Linked DNA regions of Homo sapiens: region 2 is linked to region 1. Evidence: promoter capture Hi-C in 16 types of primary human blood cells and fetal thymus (Javierre and others, 2016). All regions are on one chromosome and are shown on one strand. The core of a region is centred on a gene start or on the middle of the fragment in contact, and the rest is flanking DNA. Distances in the headings are between cores, read along the strand shown.

What was found. The method cuts DNA at HindIII sites, captures the fragments that hold promoters and counts their contacts. A CHiCAGO score of 5 or more calls a contact.
Region 2: a contact is called between a fragment that was not itself captured here and the fragment with the promoter of MC2R in region 1, in 1 of 17 cell types (M2 macrophages). The highest score is 5.5, in M2 macrophages.

What each region holds. Positions count from the first base shown.
Region 1 is chr18:13,913,115-13,918,841 of GRCh38, forward strand. It overlaps MC2R (melanocortin 2 receptor), which reads right to left and starts at 2,422. Exons shown (of 2, transcript NM_000529.2): 1 at 2,374-2,422. The HindIII fragment of the contact is 17,945 bases long and covers 25-5,727 here.
Region 2 is chr18:14,051,995-14,057,571 of GRCh38, forward strand. It overlaps the pseudogene LOC100128776. Among named protein-coding and RNA genes, the nearest start is that of ZNF519, 78 kb to the right of the region's middle. The HindIII fragment of the contact is 1,504 bases long and covers 3,360-4,863 here.

The sequences.
Region 1 (5,727 bases), core at 1,172-3,671:
GCGAAGGAAAGTCCCGAGAATGGAAGCTTTTGCAGGAGCTCACAGCTAGGGAGGCATGAAGCCCAGGCTGGAGTGTTCTGGTTGGAAATCAGTGTGATGCTCAGCTCCCTGCACAGCCTCACCTGGACCACCACCTTCCACCCGCTCACATCTCCCGTCCTCTGAGCTTCACTGCTCATGGCAGGCTTCCTCCACGGTGCCTTCCTGCCAGTGTGACCCACTCGGACCTTTCCCTGCCACGGCTGTGCTGCTCACACAAACGCTTGCTGCCCCCAGGTTTTGATGCTGGGACACCTACTAGGTTGATTAGTCTCTGTAGTTTGCACATGTTGTTCTCCCACCAAGTCAGGCTCTGTGCGTTACCCATGCTGCTAGCACAGCGCTTGGCACACGCATATTTTGAGTTGAGAACTTACTTTAAAACCATCTTCCAAATTTTGTACCCTGGCGGCTCATAGTCAGAGAACAGAGAAGTTAAGACTTTAGGACTCCACCACACTTTAAGGCCCACTGGGTGGGTCTGCACCAGCGCTTGCCTGTCTGTTCACACGTTCTCTCTCCCTGGGCCTGGACACGTCCTTCCTCACTTCTCACACTCAGCACTGTGTCCTTGCCCAAGTACAGACTCTCTTCCACTGCCCCCGCATCCCAAGGGAGCCCAGGATTGCTGCCCGTCTATGCACCTGTAGCTGTTTGTTCTTATTTCTACAACGGCATTATTCACATGAAAACCCTGCAGATGGATCTGAGTTCCTTAGGATAAGACCTGCCCTGACCATGTCTGAGGCTGAGCCCTGCAGACAACCTGGCCCACAGCAATTATATTTGCCTAATGAAGGCAAGGAATGTGGCTTACACAGACAAGAAAGCTCTCATTAAAATGTATTAGACACTAAGGATTCCATAGGAAACATACCTGGGATCATTAACAAGGTAAAGAATAGGATTTTTTTTTTTTTTTAAGATGTCTTAAGTTGCTCTGAGGCAGTGAGAGGGCAATTTGCTGCTGAGCAAAAACCTCCTCTGCCAGAGATTCAGGATCCACTGAGAAGTCAGGATGGCTTTGGAGCTTATCTACCCCATTACCCTGGTTCATGCCCTCCTCCACCCCTGCCGCGGCCTAAGCGGTGTCCCAAAGGCAGGGTGAGGGCTCCCGTCTCCCTGCTCCCACAGCTCTTTGTGGGTGTGTGTCCTGTCTGGGAGCTAGTGTGAAGTGTTGTCTCAGTGTGCGCTGTCCTCAGCGCCGGGGCTCCAGGAGGCTCCACTCTGACTTAGGCTTGCAACAAGGCCCAGCACATAAGGGTTCGGTACAGCTTGATCTAGGCATGAATGTGTGAGCAGAGCCTGTGACCACCGCTTCACTCCCACTCCGGGGATGGGGTGGGGAGGGCATGTGAGGAGCACTCCTCCTTCTGATCTGCTCAAGGCTGTACTCTCTGGACCCCTTTGTACCCCTTTCCCATTCCTATCCCTTTTGGACTTTTTGCATGCATGTATGTATGTATGTTTACAAGTGTGCACGTGTATGTGTGTATATGTGTGTGTATGAGTGTGTGTGTGTAAGTGAAGAATGGGGACAGTTATCTGAAGGCAGCTTAGACAAACTGAAATATGAAGAAGAGCTGTTTAATCGAATGCCTGGGCCTCTTTTCTAGGTAACATGTGCCCCCCGACAGAGCCAGCCAAAGGAAGGTGTGAGCCCCTCATGATGGCAGTGACTGCATGCTTTCTGGGTGCAAACACTTTGCAGGAGTATGTGATAATCAGTATGCTTTTAGTTATTGTTTATCCTGCACCCCGTGTTGCTGCCTAGGAAGGTGGAGGCTGACTGAGCTAGTGGTTGAGAAAGGCACAGAAAGTGTGCGTGCATCTCCCAGAACTGTAACGTCACACGTGTGGATGGTGGAGTTGCTTAGACACCAATGCCTGAGGTTCAGGAAGCTGCCGCATGCCCACGTCTTTGTGGCGCTAAAACCCCCGCACTCTTACACCTAGACAAGCTGATCAGGTGAAGGGGCTAACTCCAGAAGTGATAATAGAAGCATGATTTGTTTCACCCCTAATTCTATTAGGAAAAAACTGGCTGTAGTCCTTGAATAGAGCTCAATGACAATTTGAAGAGTACTAGAGAAGCCAATAAATTCATTAATAGGGAAGATTGTTTTAGCTAGACAAAAAGGTAATAGCCTTCATTGTAGTAGTTTAATTAGAAAAATAATAAACTCCCTTAGGAAGGATGAAAGCCCATAATTAAAAAGATGAGCTATTTGGAGGAATTCTGAATAGTACCTCTTCTCAGATTTGTTCCTAGCTGCTCTATTCATGGTCCAAAAGCACTTAGCAAGCTGAGGAATTAGTGGAAAATGTACTTACCTTCAGCTCTGAAGCAGGAACTTTCTGGGCAAAATGAATGAGAAGGAATGAGCTCGGAGAGAAAAGCAAGCAAGTGGACCTTGGGCCGGGAAGGGCCGGAACACATGCATCACCGGAGATACAGCTAGATTGTTATCATTACCTTGAATAAATGTCATCCCACATGAACTGTGCATTTCTGGTAATGTGAAGTTAGAGAAATGGAAAGACACAGGCAGATGAAGACATAATTTCCATGAGCTCAGCTAGTCAAGGTTACTTCCAATGTTTATGACAATGTTTCTAGCAGATTATGGAATTGTCATCTTGCTCTTTTTAAATGCCACTTTAGAGTTGCATTTATTTCCAAAAAGAACTAAGGAATTAAATAAATCAGGTTTTTGAGAAAATGGTTTTGGAAGAATTTGTTTTAAAACTTCTAGCAAACTTCTTGATATATCTTGCAAATATTTGGCTCATTAGTTTCATTAAGAAGAAGGGAATAGCCCCATTATCCCTATTTCACAAGACTAAACAATGAGAGTGAGGGAACTGTGTGCTCAAGTGCACATATGACGCATGGGTCCAGACAAGAAAAAAACCCTGTGTTCTGCCAATGCTTCTCCGTCCAAAAACTTCACAGAAACCGCCATAGATAAGAGCCATCATTCAAAGCAAAATTCTTCCATTTTAGGGTGCAATGCTGTGTGTTTTCTGCCTGCCGGGGCCTGCAGGGAAGGGCTACTGTTGGTGTCAGTCACAGCAACAGGAATGTTGAAGTGTGGAATTGGGCCAAGTTTCCAGATGGTCCTGGGTTTTTGGGGCTGGGGCCAAACCAGTGGCTGTTTCTGAAATGTGAGCTTCCGCCCCAAGCTAAAAAGTGTTCACACGTGGGTGGTCTGGAAAAGACCAAAGAGAGAGACCTGAGTTGAATTTGCCAGGCGGGTAAACACAATTTTATAAAGTGGCTTTTCCTGGCCTGTCACTGAGGCAAAGCGTGTTGTCCCCAGGAACTCATGGACCCAGGATCATCCCAGACTTCGACTGTTTCTGAGTAGGTGTGTGCCTCCGCAACATGCCCTGCAGCTGAAACCCGGCGTTCCACAGGCCTCTTTCCCTCTTCAGTCATGTAGTTGAGATAACAGAGAAAAGCAAGGCATTGCCTCCAGAAAGCTACTGTATTATCTGGAAAAGTAGAGACAACTCGTCCTTAGCCCTTGTACTTGCAGAAGCAGAGGCCCTTTGTCAGAGATCTGTGGATCTGATTAGCTGATTGGGAAAACCGGTGGCCAGCCCTGGGGAGTGGGACATCAGGCAGGCTGCAGACAATGGGAACACTGTCTGGAGGAGGCGAGCCTCGGCCAGTCCCCTGGGTGGGACCTGGGCCACTCTGATTGGGAGGGACAGGGAGAGACTTCCAGCAGGGGGAAGGTTGCCTAGGGGTTTGGCTAAGCCCTGCAAAGAGAGTAGCTATTGCTATTTTAGTTCTTCCATTTTGGGGGCTCATCTCTCTCCAATTTTTAGAGAAAAGGGGGCAAAAATCTCTTGGAAGGAGCAGAGTAGAAATGACAGAGTTTAGAACCAGAAGACACGCGGTCAGAGTTCTGAGTGCCAGGCCTCTAGGACTCCATTGCCTGGTGTAAAGCGGGCTGTTGTGAGAATTCAGACTAGGTTTGTAACAGTGCTCAGGGAAATCTAAAACCATATGCCAATACCTATGGTTTTTGTTATAACCCTGTCCAAACACTCTTGAAATAGTGGTATTTTAAAAGAAATATCTTTGCTGTAGGGAAACCCATTCAGCTGGTGATCATTGGAAAGCAAACTTGTAAGTGGAGATGCTGGTAGATGAACTCTGATGACCATGTTACAACTGCGCCACCATTCCGTCACCAGCCCAGTCTCTCTCTCATCCCAAGAGATACGATGGAAAAGGGGAATTTTAGGGAGCATTCAAAGGGCTTCTGTATGCACCCTTTCTTCTCTTCTCACACAATCGTATACAACTCGGTCACTTTCACAAATACAACTTCCTCCCCAGTGCTTGTCCCTCTCATGGAAAAGCTAAAGAGGCAGAGAGAGAGAAAGAGTGAGAGGGTGGGGGAGGCTTGGGAGGCAGAGCAAGGGGAAAGGAGATGCAATGGGGAAACAGAAGGGGACAGGAAGAAGAGACAGGGCCGGGGATCTGTCTTTTGTGTTTGCAGGACTGCCCCATTCTGACATAGAAAATGCTGGGGTTGGAAGGTAACTCACAAATGTCTTTGCTGAAATCTGCAGTGGAAGCAATGGTAAGAATCCACAGTGGGTTTCCTATGTGCCAGCCATGATGAATGTTCTCAGTGCTGTACATATCTCGACATTTAATCTTCTCAGCACATGTGTGAAGTCACCTTACAGACCCCATTTATAGATGGGGATCTGAGAAGTTCAGTGGCTCTACAGAGGCCATGATAGCACTTAAGACTTTCCTGTAAGAACGATGAGGAGTCAGGACTAGGATGACATGACCTGATTCAGGCTTTAAAGGATCCTCTCCACGGGTTGTAGGGGCCAGAGGGGAGACGGGACAGTGGTAGAGGTGGGTGCCTGGTGGGAGCTGCTTGAGGAGGAAATGGGAAGTGAGGAGAGGAGACAGCAAGCATGGACAAGCTCTTATGAAACATTTACATTTAAATTTTAAATAAATATTGTATATATTTAAGGTGTATATGATGTTTTGTGTGTATACTCACAGTGGACTGCTGACTGCAGCCAATCTACTGAACATACCCATCGGCCTGCAGTTGCCTTTCTGTGTGTGTGGTGAGAACACTTCAGATCTGCTCTCTTTGCACATTTCCTTTTCTTTTTCTTTTTCTTTTGTTTTGTTTTGTTTTGTGTTTGAGATGGGCTCTCCCTCTGTTGCCCAGGCTGGAGTGCAGTGGCACCATCTTGGCTCACTGCAACCTCTGCCTCCCAGGTATAAGCAATTCTCCTGCCTCAGCCTCTCAAGTAGCTGGGACTACAGGCGCACGCCGCCATGCCCGGCTAAGTTTTTATGTTTTAGTAGAGATGGGGTTTCACTGTGTTTCCCAGGCTGATCTCGAACTCCTGAGCTTAGGCAATCCACCCACCTCGGCCTCCCAAAGTGCTGGGATTACAGGCGTGAGCCACCATCCCCTGCCCTTCTCTTTGCACATTTCAAGCATACAACACATGATTAGCTACAGTCACCATGCTGTACCTCGGGCCTGCAGAACTTACTCCTCCTGTAACCCTGAAACTTCATGGCCTTTGACCAGCATTGCCCCAGGACCCCACCCCAGGCCCTGGCAGCCACCCTTCTCCTCTCTTCCTAAGGATTCGACTTTTTAATTATTCTACATAGAAGTGAGA
Region 2 (5,577 bases), core at 2,862-5,361, 140 kb after region 1:
ATTTCTGGCCCTGTTTTACAACCTTCTTCAAACTCATTGTTGAAGTCCAGGAAATGTTTCTGTCTCTTGCCTGGCTCTATGGTGGGAAAACAACTCTCATATCATCACCTCGTATCTCCCATATTCTGCTTTTTGGTTTTTGTTGTTTTTAATAAAATACATGTTTCAGGTCTGTAAGCTCTGAATTTTAGAATCGAAATGACTTTCTCTATTACAATAACTACAGTTACAAATAAAAAGTGTTTTTGCTTTCAGTAAATTATCTGTTTAGTAAGTTTTCAAGAACTAAGTTGAAGGGTGTAGCTATTTATTCCTGGCTAGAGTAAGACATGCAGAAATCTATCACTACTGCCCAGCTGTTGAGAGTATGGAGGCAACAAACACAAGGAAACTTGAACAAAGCAAAGTCAGTTAACATCTCAAAATATTATTTTGTTATTACTTTAAAATTATTCAATATATTACACAGTCCTCTTATTTGTTGGAAATTGTGGGATGATAGATCTACAGAAGGTAGCTGCTAACGAAAGTCCAGTTGGCTCATTATATTCTTTAAAATCACAATATAATATTTAAGAGAAAGAATAAAGGAATGGGCTACTTTACTTTCATATGTTTGTTTTTAACATAGTGATTTCTAAGACTGGTTTCTCCTTAGCTCTTTTCAGACTAACCATTTCTATATGAAGGAGCCCAAAGCTCCCTAAATGTCTCTGACATGCCATGTTCATCTTTGTGCATTTATAGAATGTTTTGGTTTTGCTGTTTGCACAGGCTTCAGTTGAGCATCTCTGTTCTGCTTTCCTATGTGAGCTCCACTTGAATGCGTCAAGCTGCATTTTGGAGTATGCCTGAAAGTTAACACCATTACAGCAAAAGGGTAACTTTTCACTTAAAAGAAGCTATAAGTTGATTATAAATTATTTTTTAGAAAACAAGAGTGTATTTTAAAAAAACTTATTAATATTAAATGAGAAAACTTCCAAAAAGCTAAATAATTTCTTCTCCAGTTCAGAAAATTTATTAGCTTAAAGCCAGAATAAAAGCTTGAGGATCTGCTTGATCATGTCTGCTGTTTAACCCCTCTCTTGAATTTTTTTATTTCAGTTATTATATTTTAGCTCTATAATTTTAGTTTATTTCTATTTTATAATTTTTTTTAAAAAAAATATCATTTCTCTGAAATTTTTAGCTGTTTATCTATGTTCTTTGTAACTCACCGAGCTTCTTTAAGATTTTTAAAAATTGCTTTTGGTAAGGTAATTCATTAACTCCATTTTTAAAGAATCAGTTACTAAAGATTCACTTCATTCTTTTTGATTGGGTCATCTTCCCCTGATTCTTGATGTTTGTTGTAGTTTGTGGTGGTATCTGTATATTCGAAGAAGCAGTCCCATCTCCCAGCATTTACAGATTGCTTTAGCAGGAAAAAATCTTCACCCATCAACCTTGGTACAGATTCCGAGAGCTTGTCAAATATTTTCTGTAAGTTTGTCTTCTCTGAGTTGAACATGTAGTTTCTTAACTACAGGGATTTACTGGGTTCACCCCCAACACAGGACCATAATTTCTTCCTCACTTTGGTATCTGACTGCTGTACTATGGGCCAGAACGTTGGTGGCATGCCAGTTACGTGTGTTCACACTCTGTTAGATGTGTGGCAGGCCAGGAATGAATCAGCAAATAATCTCTTTCCCAACATTTAAACTAATTTATTTCATTCTCCACTAGTAATGGTTTAGCCGAGAAGGAATGTGAAAGACTTTTTCATCAATCCCATGGCCTTGGTGGAGAAGTAACTCCCTGGTGAACTGTGTGTGTGACCACAATGGGCTGAGGCATGTGGACAACGCTGGAGGCAGAGCTGAGTGTGAGCAGAGGCTCACAGTGAGGCAGGGGCATCAGCATTGAGTCCAATCAACCCATCAGGACACCTGCTGCATGGAGGTTGTGAGCACTGAGGTGCTGAAGAGGCTCTCACTCTGTCTAAGAGAGTGTCCCGAGCAAGACAAGCAGTCCTAGATGCCCAGATTCTTGTTTTGGCTTCGGATCTGGGCAAAGGGAAAGCAAAGCAGCTGTGCTCAGATCTGAACTTGTTGGACATGTTGTGTTGAAACTTTACTGACATGTATGGGTGTAAATCTGCCAGAAGCTGAAGAACTCATCCGTGATGAAGATAGCTCTGATTTGAATTCATAGTCTATGACTCCTGGAAAATATCAGGCAAAAGAGCAGAAAACACCTTTAATCAAGCCCATACACTCCACTCTCTGTTGGATTCAACACAAGGAGAGTTCCTTGTGCCAAAGTCCCAAATCATTAGTCCAAGAAAACTTCCTATGATACAAAAGGAGACGATAATGCCTGCCCAGTTAAAAAGAAGGGAAGAATCTCATCAAGAAACAACAAAGAAAGAAGTAGAAAGAATCTTGGGATTGTTGCAGTTGTATATTCGAGATGCTACCCAGCGTCCTTCTTTGCCTTTGTGGTTGATCCACAATCTTTCCCCCAAACAGTGGAAAACATCTTTCATGTTTCCTTCATTATACAGGATGGTTTTGCAAGAGTAAAACCTGACCAAGACCGACTGCAAATAATAGAGCCTGTTAATATTAATGAAGAAAGTGAGGAAATTCACCAAAACACCCAAGTTAGGAATCGAGGAATTCTAGCTGTGAGGTACCCTGACTGGGAGGAGATTGTGAATACCTTTGAGATTTCAAAGCCTGGGATTACTCCAAGTCAGAGACAGCAGAGGCTAAGTGCTTGACGCTAGCTGAAGGACTCAAATGGATAGTGAAGTCCAAGAGGGAAAGAAGCATGTATTATATACAGTGTATGATTCAACATTTAAAAAGACAGATTGTTTTTAGTAAAATGTAGCTTTTGATATTTAATGAATTTGTCATGGTTGTTTTTGATTACAGGAAATTCACTGCCATATTAAAAAAAAAAAGCTGCCACACTTTTTTCCCATAGTGGCTATATCATTTTAAATAAATTACCACCAGCAATATGAGTGATCCAGTTTCTCCACATGCTCACCAGTATTTGGTACATTTTCCGTATTTTGCTTAAAGCATTCTGGTAAATTTGCCATAATATTGCAGTATGATTTCAATTTGCATCTCCGAGAAATAGCTAACATATTTTCATGTGGATACTTGCCATCTCCATCTCCTCCTCAGGGAAATGTCACTTCACATCTGTTACCTAATGTAATTGAGTTTTTCCCCACTGTGGCATTCGGAGTGTTTTTCACATGTTCTGGATACTACCCTTTGTCAGATATGCAGCTGGCCAATACTTCCTTACGTCTGTAGTATGTTACTTTATCCCTTTAAAGGGGACTTCCACAAAGCTTAGTTTTCTAATTTTGATGAATTCCAATTTACTCTTTGGTTGCTTTCTCTCTCTCTCTTTCTCTGTCAAGGAGAACTTTGGAAAACACTGTTATATATTTTGTAGGAATGTAAGATTAAACTTTATTTCTAAGACATATTTTCTTTCCATTAAAAAAACAAGGTTTTACTGAAAAATTTAAAACTAATTTATGTATTTACATGTATTTTTAATTACCTATACTACTAGAAGGCACTTTTCAAATAAGTATCAGTATTTTAAGAATGTAAAAGAAAAAATTAAACATGCTGAATAAAAATTTATAGTTAAAATCTATCCCATCCCTAATATACAGGAGTTTGAATATAAATTAGTAAAGTTTTAGTCTAAAATGACTAGATAGTATAATAATATCTATCTTGAGAACTGATACAGCAAGTAAATGAAAATCAGTTTATAAAGAGAATGGAGTAGGGGACCTAATGTCATTTAAGCCTCTCTTGTTTTACAGAAAATCAATTTTTGTAAGTCACCAAATAAAAAATAAACATACTAAGAAGAATGTTTCTCCATTACATTGTAAAGAAAACAATCTTCTGAGCTGGAGGACTGTAAGACCTGGATGTGTAACCTGAGACTATCAAAATAACTCATTTGTAGACCATTTGACTTCCTTCCACAGCCCGCCTAGCATGTACAAACACCCACTGATTGAAAATCTGTGGAATAGTCACTTTCAAGTAAAAGAGGCGCACATGAAGGTGTACAATGTGATTTTTGTAATTTTTATGAAGTTGAAGAACTGTCAAAAATGATGTATAAAATAAAAATCAAAACAGGGCTGTGTATGGTAGAGTGGGTGGGCCTGTCTGAAATGTCAGAGGGGATTTTCTGTGCTGATATGATCCATATATTAATAGGGCTGTTGGATACTGTAAGGAATATAAAGTTATAAAAATCTGTAAAGTCATTGACAGATAACATCTGCACATTTCACTATAGTTTAATTTTGTGTTAAGATAAAACAATAAGATGGAAAGGAGAATGATCATCAAATTGTAATGGAGATAAGTATATTTCATTCACAAATTTCCCCTGCCAGTGACCATAAAATTGACCAATCCAGAATGCTAGCTACTAGTAGGGTTCGAGGCAGAATGTTGGGGTGTACCTTGGGGTTTGTTGTGGCAGCTGGACCCACGGTTACTGGGCAGAGCTCTGTGGTGGCTGCAGTGCCATGGAGAGTCTGAGATCCTCTGTGGACCTGGGCCCTGGACTGACCCTTCAGAAGCTGGGCAAGGTGGTGGTGGAGCTCCTGCCACATGATCTCAGTCCACAACTCACTGTCCACAAACTCCAGGTGGAGACACTGGTGTGTTTGCCTCTCATCGGGTTATTGGTGGGTCTCATGGTTTTATTGAGGCTTGTTCAGTCTGTTAGGGGTCAACTTTGTGTAAAGCGTGGAAACAACTGTGGAAACACTAAATTCACAGATTGAAAAGAAATGCCAACTCACTAACAAGCTTAGTGCTACCAGTAAGGAGTTTGCAGAGATTGAATTATCTTTAGAGAATGTCAGGGTAGATAGAGTCTTTAAATATACCCAGACTTAGGATACTTAAAAAAAAAATGAGGAGCACCAACTTGATGCTGATGGAGGAATTCAATTCTCTGTTTCGAGAATTGAAAGAGAGATCCAAACTCTCCAAGCAATAAGAGGCAAAGGAGGAGATGCCAAAAATGGTGGAGTCTGTAGAAGAGGTCATGAGATAAGTATATTTCATTCACAAATTTCCCCTGTCTGTGACCATAAAATTGACCAATCCAGAATGCCAGCTACTAGGAGGGTTCCAGGCAGAATGTTGGGGTGTCCCTTGGGGTTTGTGGCAGCTGGACCCATGGTTACTGGGCAGAGCCCATCACAAGGGGCTTTTCTAAACCTGCTTGGAGGAGAAGCACCAAATCCTGCTGCTCTCTTCTCAGGAGTGGACGTGGGTCTTAAATCCGTGCTGCTCCCTCCCCTCCCCTTGGGCCTCATGGGCTGCCAGGCTGCGTATACCCACCTTGACTCCTTCTGAGGGTCACTGAGGCCAGTTGGTTCAGGGGAGCTCCTCACTGGGCTGGAATTCCTCCACCTTCACATGCTGTTCATAGCAGTCAGCTTCTTCACGGTAAACTCCTTCAAATATAAAGAATATAGGAGATCCTGCAACATGTCAAGAAATGTGTGACTTT